4 separate regions of the Homo sapiens genome follow, and all the other regions are linked to region 1. Evidence: promoter capture Hi-C in 16 types of primary human blood cells and fetal thymus (Javierre and others, 2016). All regions are on one chromosome and are shown on one strand. Each heading gives the region's core, a stretch centred on a gene start or on the middle of the fragment in contact. The rest is flanking DNA. Distances are from core to core; before and after follow the strand shown.

Region 1 (4,704 bases), core at 1,162-3,661:
CCACCCACTCTCACTTCCCTCCAGTGTCCTGAACACACACGTACTTCTACCAGTGGGATTTGGCTGGTGCCAAAGTGCCAAGTACATAAGGGGAAGGCAAGGAGGGTTTGTCCTAGCCCAGGAAGAATGAGCGGACTTCTTTGCTCTGAGGAGAGCTGAAGTATTGACCCTCCCTTCCCCATTAACCCATATCCAGCTGCCACCCAAGGGGAAGCTTCGGAGCCTGTGTAGCCAGCATGTGGAAAGGCTGCAGATCTTCCAGCACCTCCACCCCATCGTGGTCCAAGCCGCTTTCCCTCCACTCTACAAGGAGCTCTTCAGCACTGAAACCGAGTCACCTGTGGGGCTGTCCAAGTGACCTGGAAGAGGGACTCCTTGCCTCTCCCTATGGCCTGCTGGCCCACCTCCCTGGACCCCGTTCCACCCTCACCCTTTTCCTTTCCCATGAACCCTGGAGGGTGGTCCCCACCAGCTCTTTGGAAGTGAGCAGATGCTGCGGCTGGCTTTCTGTCAGCAGGCCGGCCTGGCAGTGGGACAATCGCCAGAGGGTGGGGCTGGCAGAACACCATCTCCAGCCTCAGCTTTGACCTGTCTCATTTCCCATATTCCTTCACACCCAGCTTCTGGAAGGCATGGGGTGGCTGGGATTTAAGGACTTCTGGGGGACCAAGACATCCTCAAGAAAACAGGGGCATCCAGGGCTCCCTGGATGAATAGAATGCAATTCATTCAGAAGCTCAGAAGCTAAGAATAAGCCTTTGAAATACCTCATTGCATTTCCCTTTGGGCTTCGGCTTGGGGAGATGGATCAAGCTCAGAGACTGGCAGTGAGAGCCCAGAAGGACCTGTATAAAATGAATCTGGAGCTTTACATTTTCTGCCTCTGCCTTCCTCCCAGCTCAGCAAGGAAGTATTTGGGCACCCTACCCTTTACCTGGGGTCTAACCAAAAATGGATGGGATGAGGATGAGAGGCTGGAGATAATTGTTTTATGGGATTTGGGTGTGGGACTAGGGTACAATGAAGGCCAAGAGCATCTCAGACATAGAGTTAAAACTCAAACCTCTTATGTGCACTTTAAAGATAGACTTTAGGGGCTGGCACAAATCTGATCAGAGACACATATCCATACACAGGTGAAACACATACAGACTCAACAGCAATCATGCAGTTCCAGAGACACATGAACCTGACACAATCTCTCTTATCCTTGAGGCCACAGCTTGGAGGAGCCTAGAGGCCTCAGGGGAAAGTCCCAATCCTGAGGGACCCTCCCAAACATTTCCATGGTGCTCCAGTCCACTGATCTTGGGTCTGGGGTGATCCAAATACCACCCCAGCTCCAGCTGTCTTCTACCACTAGAAGACCCAAGAGAAGCAGAAGTCGCTCGCACTGGTCAGTCGGAAGGCAAGATCAGATCCTGGAGGACTTTCCTGGCCTGCCCGCCAGCCCTGCTCTTGTTGTGGAGAAGGAAGCAGATGTGATCACATCACCCCGTCATTGGGCACCGCTGACTCCAGCATGGAGGACACCAGGGAGCAGGGCCTGGGCCTGTTTCCCCAGCTGTGATCTTGCCCAGAACCTCTCTTGGCTTCATAAACAGCTGTGAACCCTCCCCTGAGGGATTAACAGCAATGATGGGCAGTCGTGGAGTTGGGGGGGTTGGGGGTGGGATTGTGTCCTCTAAGGGGACGGGTTCATCTGAGTAAACATAAACCCCAACTTGTGCCATTCTTTATAAAATGATTTTAAAGGCAAGAAGTGTGTGTGTCAGAGGGTGGGGGAGATTCTTAAATTAGATTACCTGCATGCCTGCTCTCCAGTCTCATTCCTGGGTCAAGACTCAGGTTTCCAGCTCAGCAATCCATCAGCATTATACAGATCCAACCCACCCTCACCCGACCCCTGCAGTTTCTCCCCAGGTGGAGCAGTCCCTCAGTGAGGACTGTGAACGAATCTTCAGGAACCCCCACTGTAGGAGCCTCAAACTGAGCCCCACGGGAGATGCTCTAGACTGAGAACTTCCCATAAATGATACCCACGGGGAACGTTTAGATTTAGAGGTTGCACAGAATTGCTCCACATCTGGGAGACCAAAAGACAGTCCTCTGGAAGGTGGCTGGCCCAAGCTCCCCAGTGGGGGAATCAGGATGTCAGAGAGATCCTCTAGAACCTGCTGTTCTTGCTATTGCATGACCCCTCCCTGGCACCAGAGCCTCCCTCCTGGCTCCCTCCCCTGTCACTTGCCAGCCTGTAGTGGTGCTTGCTGCAGCCCTCCCTGGTTGCTTTATTTATTTATTTTGCACCAACAGGGTTGCTGCAGACTCATTCTTGCCTGGTTTAAAAAGAGAGAGAGAGAGAGAGGAAAAAAAAAAAGGAGAAATGCTTTCTGGCTCTTTTCTCCACCTCAGTCTTGGCAGCAGCGGCCGCAGCAGCAACAGCAGCAGCAGCAGCGGCAGGCAGCAGCCGGGCAGCCAGGCAGCGGGGGTTGAGGCACACAGGGAAGGTGCAGGGGCCTGAGGTGCAGCTCGAATGGGACAGGGCCCCCAGCGCTGGACAGATGCAGTGCCAAACTTGATGCCACCTTCCAGCTTCTCCGGTAAGTGCCCCCACTCTCTGTCCCAAAGATGCAGCCGCCCTTTTCCATAACATTCTCCGAGACAGGCCAGACTAGGGGCCAGACAGGCCCCTCAAGGCAAGAGGGTTTGGGCCCCCACACTGCTAACAATTAATCCTGGCCCCATGGGACTTTGAGGGGGAAACTCAAATATCCCAAGTACCCCTGGGTGGAAGGGCTCCAAGGAGACCTCCCTTCCATCTCCCCAGTGCTTCCCCTTCCTCTGGAAGGGTTTTTCTCCACAATCGGTGTGGATCTTCCAGAAATCTTTCCCCCAGGAACCCTCTCCCCACACAGTTCCCATTTGTCAGTCAGGTGTGCTTTAAAGAGGATACAGGATACCCAGGTTCAAAAGTGTCTCTGGACTGCCACATAAAGACAAGAAAAAGGCTCCCTACCCTTGAGGGGTGATGCCTTCAAGGGTCATGTCTTGGTGATGTCCCCACCCCACTGAAGGGACAAAAAAGTGGTTCTGACATCTCGCTTCCTGCAAAGTGGCCGGAAGCCGGTCCTGCAGCCATGGAGGTTGGCAAGGGAAATTTGTGATTAAATTAGCCACCTTAGAAATAAAATAGGTTGCTCCAGCTCCCTCAGCCCCTGGCCCAGCGGACTCAGGGGAAACTCACAGGAGCAGGAAGGAAGAAAGCTGGGTTACATGCTTCACTGCACTTTTGCTGAATGCAGAGCGAGGATGGGCAGGAACTGCAGCAGTAGTGATGAAGAGCTAGCTGTCAGGTGGACTTCCCAGAACAAGCCTAGGGAGAACAAGGGAGGCTGGGCCATCTTTCCCGGGAGAGCTCTGGGCATGCCACAGAGACCTGTTAGGTCAGTTTGGGGCGAGAAGAGTCTGCTCTGCAGTCTTTGCCCCACGTTATTCTTTTTCATCCCCAAGCCTCACACCAGTTTTCTGCATCCCTCTGCTCTTTTGGCCTCTTTCTTTAGTTTCCCAACTAGGACAATCCTCTCAAGTGGCTGTAGGATAGCCACTAGAATGATCCTTCTAGGAGGTGGAGAGTGGGAAGGAAAGGGGAAGAAATGACCATCTCTTAAACTGCCTCTCCTAAGTTCCACATGAGAAAAAACAGGGCATGTAGTAGAAAGCTGACCCTGTAGAGCCCAGAGAGCCTGAAGCCCACAAGCCCAAAGGTGATCAGGATTGCCGCTCAGCAGAGACTCAGACGCGCTGTATCCCAGAGAGCATCCATGGGCTTTTGCTCCTATCTCTGTAGCCATCCCTTGCCAATTCCAGTACTTCCTCTGCCTTGGGGTCCCTGTTGACATCTAACAGGATGAGTCAGGGGCCCTCATCACCTAGAGGGCCCCTTCTCCTCTGTCACCTCAGCCATTGTAGTCACCATCTTCCTGAGGGTTCCCGGAACCTGGTACCCAGAAACTGACTATAAGTCTACAGGCTCTGCACACTGTCTGTGCCCAGATACCTGCTGTGCCAGCCAACGGCTCCCTTCCTCCCCATCCTACAGCACTTGGTCAGATGCTGTCTCTCCTCACTTATCTATGCTCCCTGGTCCACAATCTGTCTCTTGGGAATTTCTCAGGCAGCTCAGGCCAAAAGGGACAAGAGCTCTCCCTCAGATCCACACACTGGACCAGAATCCAAACACCATTAAGGAGGGATATGAGGGAAGCCCAAGACTGAAGACCAAGCAACAGAACTCAAAACCTGGGCATCCTTTGGGTCTCTCACACACCCCAACTTCAATTGCAGTAGAGAAGCAGTTGCCCCTGGGCTCTTGCAGGGGATTCCCAGCTTCCCAGTCAAGTGCCTCCTGCATCCTATGCCACAGCTAATGTACAGCTTGGCAGTTGTCCACACAGGCATTTTGGGGAGATTGGATCTTGTTAGTCCAGGGCTCAGGCCCTGGGCCAGGCTGGAAGAGGGCTCAGCATGGGGGTGGAGCTGAGGCCTGCATGTTTCCCAGCCTTGGGTGAGCTAGTCAAGGTGAGGACCTCTCCAGTCAGGACAGGGAACTCTGGGCCAAGGACATGATCTCCCTGAGCCTTAAGCAAAACTATGGGTACATAATGTGAAAGAATAAGCGTGAGCAGAGAGGGACAGAGCAGAGCT
Region 2 (4,704 bases), core at 908-3,407, 240 kb after region 1:
GGGAATACATGCAGCTGCCTGCCACAAACAAAGAGCTTCCCTTGCCCCCAGGGATCCTGATAAAGTTTGACAAAGCAAAAATTACAAAGGGAAGATCTTTTTCAATTATTTCTGACCCAAAGCCTGATTATTCATCATATGACAGCCGGTTTGTGCAAACAAGGGGGCTGGACTTTGGGCCAGTCTCTGCACACATTAGGTTCTTCTGATACCTGACAAAGTAGCTCCCACCAGCCAGATGTGAGCTCAAGCACTGAAAGACCTACCTTCAGCCAAAGCAAAAATTAGGTAATTTCCACCACACAAGTGCATGCCCAAGACAAAGAACTTTCCTTGCACCAGCTGCTGGGCCACTGTTCCCCTCAAGGGAATGAAGGCAGGGGCTGCTGCTGGAGCAAGACTCTGCCTGAACCAAAATGCAAATCAAGGATACAACTCAGAATCTAAAGGATGAGGGCGAAGTCACAAAGAGACAGCTCTGCTCTCCTGAGGACATTTCTGTCCTCGAGTTTTGGAAAAACTGAAAAGCAGGATCCCAGGATTATCCCTCCCAGGAAAGACTTACCCAATCTGTTCAGTCTAACAAACATTTACTGATGCCTTCTACATCCCAGACCTGGGGGGAATGGGAGGGTGAGGATACAGACACGAGGTGGGGTGGGGTGGGGTGAACTCCTAACCTTGAGGAACTTCCCATCCCAGGTTAGACATAACTATATACAAGATTAATAACAGGCTAGGGCACGGACTTCAATTTACGCTACAGGTATCACCCAAACTAAGCAAGATCAGCTTATGAGAAGTGTGGATTTACAGGTGATTGTCTGCTTTACAAAATTCTATTATTATAAGAAGCTTGATCACAGAATCCTTATAGATAAGAGGTTTGCTAACAACTGATGATATTTAATTTATATAAGTTCAATTTCTGTACAGTGTTTCAGGAGCAGGTGTACTTATGTTTAAGCTGACATGTGTAAATGTAAGTGCTCATCGGCTGGAGAGTCCTAACCAGATTGTGAGTGCTCCAGAGAAGCCAGCATCACCTCTATTTTCTCCATTCCTGGCAGGGATGCTAGATTTAGCACACACTGGGTAATTGGTAAATGAGACTGCCTGGCACAACCCCACCTCCTCGGTGGGGACCCAACCATGGACCATTTCCTATTACCTGTATCTCCTGTCGATGGAGAGAATCTCCTAGGTTCCTGTCAAGCTTGCTACTTATATCCTCCCGGAGCTTCTGTAGGCAGTTCCTGGCCTGGGAGGGGAGGGGAAGAAACTTGAGCTTTAGGGTAGAGAAAGAGAGCATGCCAACTCACCCAACTCTGTGCCCCATCCCTGGCCTGTACTGCGAGTCAGGCACTGTCCTAACGACTGGCTGCAGGATGGAGGGAGGGACCTTGGTCAAGTGGAGCTACAGCTGACATTCTTGTTGGGGAGACACAAGACACAAAAGACAAATAAGTAAAATGTGTAATATGTTATATGGGCATAAGTGCCAACGAGAAACACGAGCCAGGAAGGGAGTTAAGAAATGCTGTGAAAAGTGGCTGGTAATTTTCGATAGGTGGCTGGGACAGTGCTGGGCCCATAGTACTTAAGTATTTGTGGATTAATGGATCAGGTATGGTCAAAAGTTATATATTTGACACACGGGAGGGCATGGTGGCATTTCAGAGACATAAAGGAAAAAGAAGGGGAAAAACCAGAATCCACAAAAGAAGACAGTCACAAAAAATGTGAGATTTAGAGAAATGACCTAGGCACTGCGTGAGAGGTAAGGGGTGCCCACCTCCTGGATGTACTGGACCTCACTCTTCAGCTGGTTAATATTCTTCTCGTGAATCATCTTGTCTCCAGACCTCCCCTTCAAGTACACCTGAAATAAGAACACCATTTAGTTAAGAAACCTCAAATTAAATTAACTATACAAAAATAGGCAGCTTCATATAGTGCTGGTGGGAGGGTAAATTGTTACCACCAATTTACTGGGTGGAATTTGGTGATTCGGATCAGAAGACCTAAAAATATATTTACTTTTTGGTCTATCAGTTCTACTTCTGGAAATTTACCCTAATGCAATAAATTTAGCTCAATGCTATATAGCTGTATTGGCATAAACACTCACATATATACAGTCATGCATCACTTAATCATAGGAATACATTCTGAGGGATGCATCATTAGGCAATTTCATCCTTGTACAAACATCACAGAGTGTACACACACAAACCTAGATGGCATGGCCTCCTACACCCCTAGGCTGTATGGTGTACCCTATTGCTCCTAGGCTACAAACAAACCTGCACAGCATGTTACTGTACTGAATACTGTAGGTGATCGTCACACAATGGTAATGTATCTAAACCCAGAAAAAATACAGTAAAAATGGAGTATAATAATCTTATGGGACCACTGTTGTCTACGCAGTCCATCACTGACCAAAACGTTGTTATGCAGTTTTGTTATGCACTGACCAAAACTGTAACTGAGTCAATCATGTGGTATGGGATTTATATCTAAAAAAGCTGTTTTATAAAAAAAAAGAGAGAGAGAAATAACAAAAATCATTTTATTTTTTAAAAAATAAGTTCCATCAGCCAGGTGGGCTGGTGCACGCCTATAATACCAGCATTTTGGGAGGCTGAGACAGGACGATTGCTCGAGCCCAGGATTTGGAGACCAGCCCAGGGAACAAGGCGAGACTGTCTCTACAAAACTAAAAATATATAAATAAATAAATAAGTTCCATCAGGATGAACCCATTATAGGAAAACATAAGTTCCATAAACACACCTCCTACCTGTCTCCACAACCTCTAGCAGCAAAACATGGTCAGTGGATAGGCCCCTAGTAAGGTCATCCAGTCCATCCCCTTGCCTGGGGCCAGGCTGCACCAAAGTTGCTAACAGGCAGACTGTAGTCTCCTGGTATTAATTAAGATATTTCTAGGAGATTGCCAGGAACTAGCAGCTCAGGTCTGGTTCCTTCCATCAAACCACAAGCTCCCTTTGGCAACAACATCAACTGCTCCTTCTCATATACGTGCAGGGAGGAAGAGGACAGGGAGAAAAGTTGGAGGTGAACTAAGCTTACCTTAATGATCTCCTCATGTCCATCATGGGACTCCACCAGTTCTGAAGCCAGAGAATGACCAGCTGAGTGGCTGGACACCATGGCATAGGTCTTCCTGCCCGCCTGGCCAAAGAGAGATGAGAGAGAGAGAGAGAGAGAGAGATGGCTCAGACACCACATGGCAAGCCCAGAACTCCTGCCCCTCAGCTAATGCAGAAGACCTGTTTCTCAAAAGACTTGAAGGATTAGTCTGACTTTCCTCTCCAAAAATTCGTTTCCGAACTTCTAACAGAAGCCACACAGCAGCAAGAACACCGGCCAGGGAGAATGGACAGAAGTAGCAGTTTAGTTTTAATTTTAGTGGGGGACTCCTCCTGCCCCAAAGCAGTGCAGAAGGCTGAGGCAAGCTGGATGTTGCTGAAAGGAGGGGCTCCCACGCTCGCATCACCAGAGTCGGCTCCAGGCAGTACTTGGGTAAGAGGCCAGCAGCAAGGAAGCACTGGTGTGGGGAGGGGGCCTTGCCCACCAGAATTCCGCAGTACCTTCTGGGCTATGTGTTCAAGTTCATCTCCTGTCAGTTCACCCTGGAGAGTCAGCCTGAGAATGTCCACGCTGCCCTAATAATGACAATGACAGCAACAATAACCCCTCAACTTTACAGTCTACAGGTACAAACTGCTACCAGTACAGGGGTGCTTCTGCCAGCTCTGTGGAGCGGGTCTTATCATCACCACTTCACAGACTAGGAAAACTGAAGTCCAGGGAGGCAGCATTACCTTGCCCAAGATCAGGTGTTTGGGGTGGTGACTCTGGGACCACCCAACAGTTTTTTCTTTCACAACAAAGATTACCTGGCACATGGCTCTGTAGAGCTCCAGCAGGGCTACCCTGGTTCTTGGACTACAGGGAACACATTGCATGCATTCTTCTTTCTCTAGTTGTAGAGAGGTCATTCCTGGACTGCTCATCCTCAATCCAGAATTTCTGCTCCTGACAACCAGCCAGCAAGTTATTGATGCACTTTACAAGACTAGCATATTCTTCCTGAACTAAACTATAGGAAAGTACCTGAATTCAAACTCCCATTTCTATGAGCCACATGGAAATTATCCAAGTGAAAACAGGCAAGATAATAGGTATTCATCTAGAGATCAACCTAATTTCAAAGAATGAAGCAGGTTTTCTTTCATAAGTCAAAGAAGTGTGTGTGTGTGTGTGTGTGTGTGTGTGTGTGCGCGCGCGCGCGCATGACTGCAGCCTCAACCTCCCAGGCTTAAGTGATCCACCCACCTCAGCCTCCCAAGTAGCTGGGACTACAGGCGCACCAATATGCCCATCTAATTTTTGTATTTTTTGTAGACATGAGGTTTTGCCATGTTGCCCGGGCTTCAAAGAAGATTTTTTTAAAAAGGCCGGGCACGGTGGCTCACGCCTGTAATCCCAGCACTTTGGGAGGCCAAGGCAGGTGGATCACGAGGTCAGGAGATCGAGACCATCCTGGCTAACACAGTGAAACCCCGTCTCTACTAAAAAATACAAAAACAAAATCAGCCTGGCGTGGTGGCAGGCGCCTGTAGTCCCAGCTACTCGGGAGGCTGAGGCAGCAGAATGGCGTGAACCCGGGAG
Region 3 (4,704 bases), core at 1,173-3,672, 220 kb after region 1:
ATGATGCCCAGAGACAGCCAGAAACGAACCCCCTTGAACAGCTGCAGTCAGCATTTCCAGAGTGCTTTTCATTTCTGCAGAAGGCATGCAGTTACTCATCTACCTCCAGTGCTGCTGTTCTATCTCTATGTAATCACAGGACTCTACCTCTATCTCTTCCAAATGAGACACAATGCGGCCAGGCTTAGGGATCCTACAAGGCCATTGCTCCAGAGAGGGTCAAAGCTAAAGTTAGGGGCTGCCTCCTACAATCACGACTCAGAGCACGGAGGTGAGCTTCTTCTAATACCTCTATAAATGCCACAAAGTCCTCATATCATGGCATTTGGGATGTTTGGACCACACCTCCCACATGTGGATAACAGGGTGCCCATCTTCCAAGAAGCACTAAAATGTTCTTCTTTCATCCTCCCTGAAAAGTGAAAGGAAACCAGACCAGGAGGTCAAAGAGACACATTAATATAATTTATTAAATTCGCCATACAAAGAATATGCCACAGACAACAATATCAGAAAGGGAAGAAACATGGATATCACCTGCTCTGACCCCCTCATTTTACAAATGAGGGAACTCCCTGAAATCCCAGAGCATTGTTATGGACAAAGCCAGAATGTGAGCCCAGTCTTGAGACACAGAAACACACAGACTTAAGGATTCTGGCTGCGTGAGCCACATAGAGCCTAAACACTTAATCCACATTTGTTTTGAATTTTTCTGATTCCTATAGTACCATACTCTGATGCCTATCTACTTCTCAAGGTTGTAGGAAGAGCCCTAAAGAAAAACACCATGGGCCGGGCGCAGTAGCTCAAGCCTATAATCCTAGCACTTTGGGAAGCCGAGGTGGGTGGATCACCTGAGGTCAGGAATTCGAGACCAGCCTAGCCAGTATGGTGAAACCCCATCTCTACTAAAAATACAAAAATCAGCCAGGCGTGGTGGCACACCTGTAGTCCCAGCTACTCGGGAGGCTGAGGCAGAAGAATCGCTTAAATCCGGGAGGCAGAGGTTGCAGTGAGCTGAGATCGCGCCACTGCACTCCAGCCTGGGTGACAGAGTGAGACTCTGTCTCAGAAAAAAAAAAAAACAATAAAAAAAGAAAACCATGATGACCTGCAGGGTCATTCAGAGCCAGGATAAAAGACCAATTATGGAGCAAGGGGTTCAGAAGGGCTAGTGAAGAACTCATCTGGGTCCCAGAAGAGTCCTGATTGCCCTCTTTCTCCAAACAACATATACTCTGACCCCAAAGCCTCAGGGAAAGTAGACTCACCTTCCTTAGCTGCAGAGCAAGTTTGAAGGAGAAAGAGAGAAGAAACAGGCAGAGGAAAGGGAGAGAAAGATTCATAATAGTGTCACTCTGACATTAACAAGCCTAATGGGAACAGTTTTCCCGGTTTCAAGCAAATCCAAATACTGCAAGAGAAGGCTATAGAACTTTGGTATTATATCAATCATGAGATGTAAGCAAAACCACCAATAACTTAGCAAAATAAATACAAAGAGGATTTTGCTGGGACTGGTGGAACCCAGTGAAAACAGTTTTCAGGCTCTGGGTCAAGAAGACTGAGGTGTGCCTGGTGGTACACCTTAGGGAAAATCCCTAAAGAGACTCTGGGAGTTTTCACAGCAGAGAGAAGTCACACATGACTGTCTGTAGCCCTAGAGAATTTTTCCGCAAAAGGCTACTCCCTGAATGTACATTCCCTCCTCCCCAGAAAGACAAGGCCACCCAGTCAAAGCTTAGGTTCACTGGCTCTCACCAGGCCTTGCCAGGTAACCCCACTATCTGTCTGCAGGAGGCCAGGGCAGCGTAGGCTGCAGATGGAGCAAGTAGAAAAACAAACAGTTTGTTGCTAAGAACTGAGCTGTGTTTGTGGAAGGAACTTCATTCCCCCAGGACATTCTCCAATCACTCTGGACATCTGTGTCTCCAGCTTTTAGGGCTGAGGCAAATCTTGTCACCTCTCCCAATCTGATGAAGGCCTGGCTTATGGCACAGCCAGAGTCCAGTCTACAACAGAAGGGAGGCTCTCTACAGAGAAAAATAGTCACTGTAGGAATATAGATATTGCCCTGGCTCCTGCTTGCAGGACAATGTCTTCCAAAGGGCTGCAGTGCCTTGAATAGGTGCTCGTGCTCCGTCTGCCCAGCTTAGAGTGGCCAGGGGCTTGGGAATGGTGAGACACAGGAGCCCGAAGTCCTGGGTGCAGCCAGGGGACAGTCAGGAAGTCAAAGGCAGTGTTAACAGCCAACAGGGGCAGTGGGCTTCTCCGAGGCAGAGGCAGCAGCAATGGCAGCAACCATCTCCAGGCAGCTCAGGTTTCCACCACTCGGATGACAGGCATGGGCTTCGGGCTAGGCGGCTTGGATATCCTAATACTGAAAAGAAGGTTGGAAACACTGAGTTGTGCTGGGAACAGCTGTGTTGTGGCCCACCCTTCACAGAGCCCCTGGAATCTTCACATTGGCCTCTGGAATCTTACACTGCAGTGCTGGCTGATCACTTGGGTTCCAAGTGCTTTAAAACAGTAATTATCAGTGACAACTAGGGGAAGATTTGGGGCATGATACATGTGTCTTGTAGCAAGGGTGAAGAAAAGAGAGGGGCAGTTAAACAACTGAGAAGTGGATATAGCTGTGATTCTCGATTTTGTCAAGATCATGGGTCCTTTTCTGAATCTCTTAGAGGCAAAATACCCTCTCCCTAGAAATATGCAAACATTATAACTAAATTTTTCCTACCATTTCAGGTGGTTCATACATCTCTAGAAGCCATTCATGGACCTCCCTGGGCTTGTGTTAACAGGTTCTACTCTAATTGGGCTAGAAAATGGTTCCGGCAAACAGTGGGTCAGACTGAGGGAGGAAAGTTGGATTTAAAGGAGCCTTGTTCTTGCCTTAGCACTAAAGGTTCTACAGAGCTCTGTCCCTCCTTCTCCCCTCCTCCCTGGCCCCATTCTATCTACACACGCTCACTCACCTGCCCGGGTTCTCTGTCTTGGCCCGGGCCTGGGTGCTGAAGTTGCCATGACTGATTTGTTTTTCTATCAGGTGTTCCATCCGGTCATGCATCTCTAAATTCTGTAACACAAGCTTAGGGGTTAGAGTTGGCCTTTTTCTGGCTTCCCGGGTGCCACGTTCAGCTAGTGCATTCTGGTCTCTCTGCCTGTGTTTATGCTGCTGTTGCCTCTACCCCCACCATGCGTGCCACCACCTGGATACCCACTTGCCTCATCTTCATTACCATAGATTGCGCTTATCCTCCAATACCTGCTCCTCCATAACTCTGTACAACACTGACAGACTGATGGTTTCCTATATGTCCTCTACATACAGTTCTTTTTTTTTTTTTTTTTTTTTTGAGATAGGGTCTCACTCTGTTGCCCAGGCTGGAGTGCAGTGGCGTGATTATAGCTCACTGCAGCCTCGACCTCCTGGGTTCAAGTGATCCTCTCCTTTAAGTCTCCCAAGTAACTGGACTACAGATGCATGCCACCACATCTGGTTAATTAAAAAAATTTTTTCTTTTTCAGAGACAAAGTCTCACTATGTTGCCTAGGTCTTGAACTCCTGGCCTCGAGCAATCCTACCGCCTCAACCTCCCTAAGTGCTGGGATTACAGGCATGAGCCACTGCACCTGGCCCCTATATATAATTTTTTGTCCTCAGTTGAGATACTCACTTGCCTTTGTTGATACGCTATTCTATAAAGCATTCTTTGGTCTTTTTAAAAATACACATTTTATCTCTGACTATAGACTGCAAACTCTCTAAAGATAACCCTTTCTCCCATTTTTCTCCCTCACTACAGGGGATCTTCACAGAGCGTTCGCAAAGTGATCTTCAGGTAGTCAACAGACAGGTAGGGCCCTGTGGCAAAGTGGAAATTAGACTAGGAAGGCAACTCGTTACGTAATCTAGCCCTGGAAAAGGCTCCATCTGTATGAATGCCTCCTCCTCCTTCACAGCCCAGCACCACTGCCAGCTCCTTTGCAAAGCCTGGAGGGTCAGAATTAGCCGTGTGCAGCCATGGCATGTGGCTTGCACCATGATGACATGTCCGTTGAAGGTGGGGCCAGGGGGGTGGTCATCTCATCATTGTTAGCAGCTTCCTGAAGGTTCTCAGAAAATGTTTATTCAGCTGAACTGAAAGTCAACCAACCACCCTAGGTATTCACTTCAGAGCAACAGCAAGACATGACAAAGACCCCTCCCATAACCTCTGTCTCCCTTATGTCCACCTTCTCTTCAAGAGTCCTGTTCCCCTGCTGGGCTGCCCAGCACACACACCTCTGCCTCCAGATAGGCGATTTTCTCCTTGAGCTCCTGGATGGTGGCGTCCTTTGACTGGATCACAGCTTTTGAATTCTGGAGCTGCAAAGGTGTGGGAGACACTGGAGCTCATTTTGCAATGACTCATTACACACTCACCAGACTTCACCCCAGCTGCTGGGGAAGGCAGCAGAGCCCTGCAACTCCATATGACTTCATTAGCTTTTCTACAAAGGCCTCCTTTCAGTCAATATTAGACTCTTGATTATCCCAGGGGTGGGAGTGAGGAGTGTGTGAGGGGAATACCACCCTGAGAATCCAAAATAATGAATGACAAAACCCATTCCATATGGCTTTGGAAAATACAAATTATTTTTTCATTCAAGACATATTTATTGAGTACTTACTATATGACTGACTCTGTTCGA
Region 4 (4,704 bases), core at 1,608-4,107, 170 kb after region 1:
CCAAAGTGCTGGGATTACAGGCATGAACCACTGCGCCTGGCTTATCTAAGTCCTTTTTCAAGCTACTGGAAAATATATCATATATATCTGATATATATATATCTCATATATATCTATATCTGATATATATATCTCATATATATCTATATCTGATATATATATATCTCATATATATCTATAGCTGATATATATATCTCATATATATCTATAGCTGATATATATATCTCATATATATCTATAGCTGATATATATATCATATATATCTATAGCTGATATATATATCTCATATATATCTATAGCTGACATATATATCTCATATATATCTATATCTTATATATCTCATATATATCAGATATATATAGCATATATATGATATATATGTATCTGATATATCTATCTGATATATATCATATGCTATATATATCATATATATGATATATATATCAGATATATATGATATATATATCTGATACATATGATATATATATGATACATATGATATATATATATATATATATATATATATATATCTGATAAAGGACTTGTAGAACCAGAATGTATAAAGAACCCCTACAATAAAATAATAAGACAACCCAATTTTTTAAACGGGCAAAAGAGTTAAACAGCTACTTCATCAATGAAGACACATGAATGCCCATTAAGCACACAAAAAGCAGCTCATCATCATGAGTCATTAGGTAAATGCAAATTAAAACCACAGTAAGGTATCACTATGTCCATGAGAATGGCTAGAATTAAAAAGACTGAAAATATCAAGAGGTTATGGAACCACTGGAACTCTCCACTGCATATGATAATGTAAAAATGATATAGCCACTTTGGAAAACTGTTTGGCAGTTTTTTATAAAGTTAAACTTACACTTACCCTGCAATTCCACTTCTTGGTATATACTCAAGAGCAATGAAAACATATGTCTACATAAAGACCTGTACATTTAATATTATTTCATGGCAGCTTTAGTCATACTAGTCCAAAACTGCAAACAACCCACATGTGCATGAACAATGAAAGGATGAACAAACTGTAGTAAATCTATACAATGGACTACTACTCAGCAATTAAAAAGGGACAAATATTTGGTTTAAATAACAATGTCTGCCAATCTTAAGCACTATACTAACTGAACAAAGCCAGATACAAGAGAGTACAAATGGTATGATTCTACTTATTTGACATTCTGGAAAATGTAAAATATGGTGACAGTAAGCTGATCCGTGGTTGACAAGGGCAGTGGTAAGGGGTGAGGACTAACTGTAAAGGGCATGAGGGAACTTTTGAGGGTATGAAAATATTCTAAATCTTCATGGTGGTGGTGGTGGTTATAAGACTATGTACATTTGTCAAAACTTGTAAAAGTGGAGACTTAACATGAGTGAATGTTAATATAGGTAAACTATGTTCAATAAAGTTGATTTGAAAAGTACAATTAGTGGGCTGGGCGCAGTGTCTCATACCTGTAATCCCAGCACTTTGGGAGGCTGAGGCAGGTGGATTACCTGAGGTCAGGAGTTCGAGACTAGCCTGGCCAACATGGTGAAACACCATCTCTACTAAAAATACAAAACTTAGCAGGGCATGGTGGTGCGCACCTGTAATCCCAGCTACTTGGGAGGCTGAGGCAGAATTGTTTGAACCCGGGAGGCAGAGATTGCAGTGAGCCAAGATCACACCACTGTACCCCAGGCTGGGGGACAGAGTGAGACTTCGTCTTAAAAAATATATATAATAAAAATAAAAATAAACAAAGGTACAATTGGTAGTATTATTCCTTTTCTCAGGTTTCCAAGGTTTTAGGTAATTCCCAAAAGGTCTCAACATCCAGACTGCTCTACTTTTAGGATGTGACCTTGATTTCAACTTCTTACATGCCTTATGACTCAAAGTTAGCACTTAGGAAGCATAAAACTCTAAATTCTGTGTGTGGTTCTAAGACTACAGAAGTCCATGCTGAAATAAAACCTATATGCCATTATCTACAGCTAATTACAGATGCAACCAAGCATTATTTGATCCTCTGCAACTCTTTTAGCTTCCTTGCTTTTCTTATCTCTTCACTAAAAAGAATTTACCATAAATGTTTAGTAGCTCGTTCCTATGCAGAGGATAAATCTCAGTTTTAGAGACTGTAACTTTAGTCAACTGTTAAGCTTTAAAACCTGTAGTCTGTTTGCCAGCATCTAACAGAACCCACTGCATTTTCTACTAAGAATAATGAACATTTCTCATTATATCAACACTCCACAAATAATTAAAGGCAAATAAAGCATATTGCAACCAAAAGAAAAATTAAGTAGACTGAGCTATCAGTGGCAATTAGGCTCTGAAGAACAAAGGCATTCAGCAAAGGGGCTAGCACACATCACTAAAAATTCAAGATGGGCTTTCCTGCATAGCTACAACAGCAACAGATTAGAAATGTGTGAAACAGCTCATGGGAATTGCATTCAGGAAACTCGTGGGAAAAACCACAGTTAATCATTCACACGGATATCTCCAAAGAAAATGAAAAAGAACATGATGTGGAAAGAAGAGTAGAGACATCTAAGTTCTGAAATGGGTGAACCTCTCTATTACCCAAATATCTTGAAGGACACCATCCTTTTACATTAATCTTGCCCTATAGCACCACAGAATCAACAGTAAATAAGATACTATTAGCAAAGAGATACGGCAACCAACAAAAGAACAAACAAAAAAGAAACTAAACAAAAACTCACACGTTTACGACAAACCAGAATGCAAACTTGAAACTATCTAAAAATAAAATGGAATTATACTCAAGCTGAGTAGGACTCTTTTCCACTACTGTAATTCACCCCCTGCAATAAATCAGGGTCAGTGTCTTTTATTTATGTGTGAACTCATCCTCCTGGTAGACAAACTGACCTAGGTTGCAGCCTTTTATCTACCACTATAATAGTTTCATAATTATAAGACTAGGGGAAACAAAGCTAGATGTTCGAGGATCGAGTTGGGCTGACACTCACCACAAACTTCTCACCATTCTGCTCCACATGTTTGTATCTGGGGACCGATATGGGCACTGCTTGCTTTTCTGTGTAATCATAAAATGATTGTCCCAACGAGTCGTCACTGGGATCTAGGTTATCTGCCTCATGAGGAGGTACAGATAACACTGTCAAGATCAATTCCTTCTCGCCTGCTCGAATCAGGTCCACCACCTGCTTGTGTGTCGCCCCCTCAACATTCACGTGGTTCCTAAGGGGAAAAAGGGAAAAAGACAATCCCATAAACCAGAAGGGTCCAAACACCTTGTATCTCCACCCTCCTGCCCAAACTCCAGTGTCACACGGTATGAACCATGAAGTCAAAAGATTAATTTGGTTCCAGAAAAGTTGTTTATGTTTTAACAGTTTCTAATGTGAAAAACTTTGTGAACTTATGGCGGGGGGAAAAATGGAAAGAGGTGAGAAGACCTCCCCTTCCTCTATACTAATATCCCACACATAGCTTCAGGAACGCACATGGAAAGAGGCTGAAGCTGAGGAGGAAACAAAGCTTTTTCAGTCAAACAATCCAATTTCCTCATTCTAACTAAGCATGTATACAATTCAATCAAAGTGGCTTTTGACAGCCCTGCCACTTGAATTGTACTTTGTCCTTTTTAAACCTCAAAGGAATTCTGTTAAAAGAACCTTCACAAAATAAATTCTCTTAATTTGTAAATAGAGACTCAAAAAAAGTTATGACTGAAGATAATTCCTTTACATTTACATCCAATTTCTCTCCATATCTCAAATCAGTCAACTTAATTTTCCTTTATGCCAAGTTTCATTACTTTGGGAGCTAAATGGTATTACTCTTCACATACACTAGTTTCCAATTCAATTAACCTCTTGGGATTCCATCAACTTTTTTCCTGCTCTATGCTATCTCATTTAGAGTCCTGTGTAATCAGTCCAAACTAAAAAATATACACCTATAATTATATGGTCAGCCTACTAATTTTCCTTCCTGTTTTGCTGTGTACAAAAGGCTGAAATAAGGCAAACAAAGTACAAGGTTTAGATGAAGTATTTTGTCAAGAAAGATGCTGAGTCTCACAAGACTCCCTCAGCAAACCAAACTACCTTCCAGAATGCTGATCCAGCTGCTCTCTCAGCAAAAACCACTGGGCAGCAGGCCTGGAGGTTCCCTCCCATGGCTATCCCAAGAGAGGTAGGAAATACACACCTGACCTCTAATCAATTTAACATTTAAAGCTTATCTACCCTTTAGAGTTAAATTCTTTTTCAGTCCTGTTCCAAACCATTAGGGATTTTCCTTCCTGAAAAATGATACTAAATTTAGTAACAAGCCTTCCATAAACTTTTCAGTCACTGAAATTGTCTCTGTCAGAGTCTGGTATCTGAAATATCCATTTATATAAACAGAACAGTCAGGAGACCCCCCAGCTAGCCTCCTGGGATTTAATTTAGGGTTTAACAATCTAGCCAGTAAATTCAGCACTCCTGACATTTCACATCCTACAAGTCTAACTTATATACAAAAAAATCAGTAATTTTACAATAAGCTAGCTATAGAAAAAAATAAAGAGCCCCTTTCACTGATGGAAACTTGGGCTTTGAATTCATTCAGTCAGACCTGTGATCAAAAAACATGATCAGGCGCCGGGCGCGGTGGCTCAAGCCTATAATCCCAGCACTTTGGGAGGCCGAGGC

What was found. The method cuts DNA at HindIII sites, captures the fragments that hold promoters and counts their contacts. A CHiCAGO score of 5 or more calls a contact.
Region 2: a contact is called between a fragment that was not itself captured here and the fragment with the promoter of LINGO4 in region 1, in 5 of 17 cell types (M1 macrophages, M0 macrophages, activated CD4 T cells and 2 more). The highest score is 6.4, in M1 macrophages.
Region 3: a fragment that was not itself captured here is called in contact with the fragment with the promoter of LINGO4 in region 1 in 5 of 17 cell types (activated CD4 T cells, naive CD8 T cells, naive B cells and 2 more); the score reaches 7.4 in activated CD4 T cells.
Region 4: a contact is called between a fragment that was not itself captured here and the fragment with the promoter of LINGO4 in region 1, in 1 of 17 cell types (total CD8 T cells). The highest score is 5.1, in total CD8 T cells.

What each region holds. Positions count from the first base shown.
Region 1 is chr1:151,803,126-151,807,829 of GRCh38, reverse strand. LINGO4 (leucine rich repeat and Ig domain containing 4) reads left to right here and starts at 2,411. Exons shown (of 2, transcript NM_001004432.4): 1 at 2,411-2,600. RORC (RAR related orphan receptor C) reads left to right here. Exons shown (of 11, transcript NM_005060.4): 11 at 197-1,759. The coding sequence ends at 358. The HindIII fragment of the contact is 4,610 bases long and covers 217-4,704 here.
Region 2 is chr1:151,561,082-151,565,785 of GRCh38, reverse strand. It overlaps TUFT1 (tuftelin 1), which reads right to left. Exons shown (of 13, transcript NM_020127.3): 2 at 3,621-3,695; 3 at 3,100-3,201; 4 at 1,796-1,882; 5 at 1,172-1,261. Among named protein-coding and RNA genes, the nearest start is that of MIR554, 18 kb to the right of the region's middle. The HindIII fragment of the contact is 1,878 bases long and covers 1,219-3,096 here.
Region 3 is chr1:151,579,323-151,584,026 of GRCh38, reverse strand. It overlaps TUFT1 (tuftelin 1), which reads right to left. Exons shown (of 13, transcript NM_020127.3): 11 at 4,295-4,378; 12 at 2,985-3,085; 13 at 444-2,383. The coding sequence ends at 2,320. Among named protein-coding and RNA genes, the nearest start is that of SNX27, 30 kb to the left of the region's middle. The HindIII fragment of the contact is 1,354 bases long and covers 1,746-3,099 here.
Region 4 is chr1:151,637,425-151,642,128 of GRCh38, reverse strand. SNX27 (sorting nexin 27) reads right to left here. Exons shown (of 12, transcript NM_001330723.2): 2 at 3,010-3,241. Among named protein-coding and RNA genes, the nearest start is that of SNX27, 28 kb to the right of the region's middle. The HindIII fragment of the contact is 1,372 bases long and covers 2,172-3,543 here.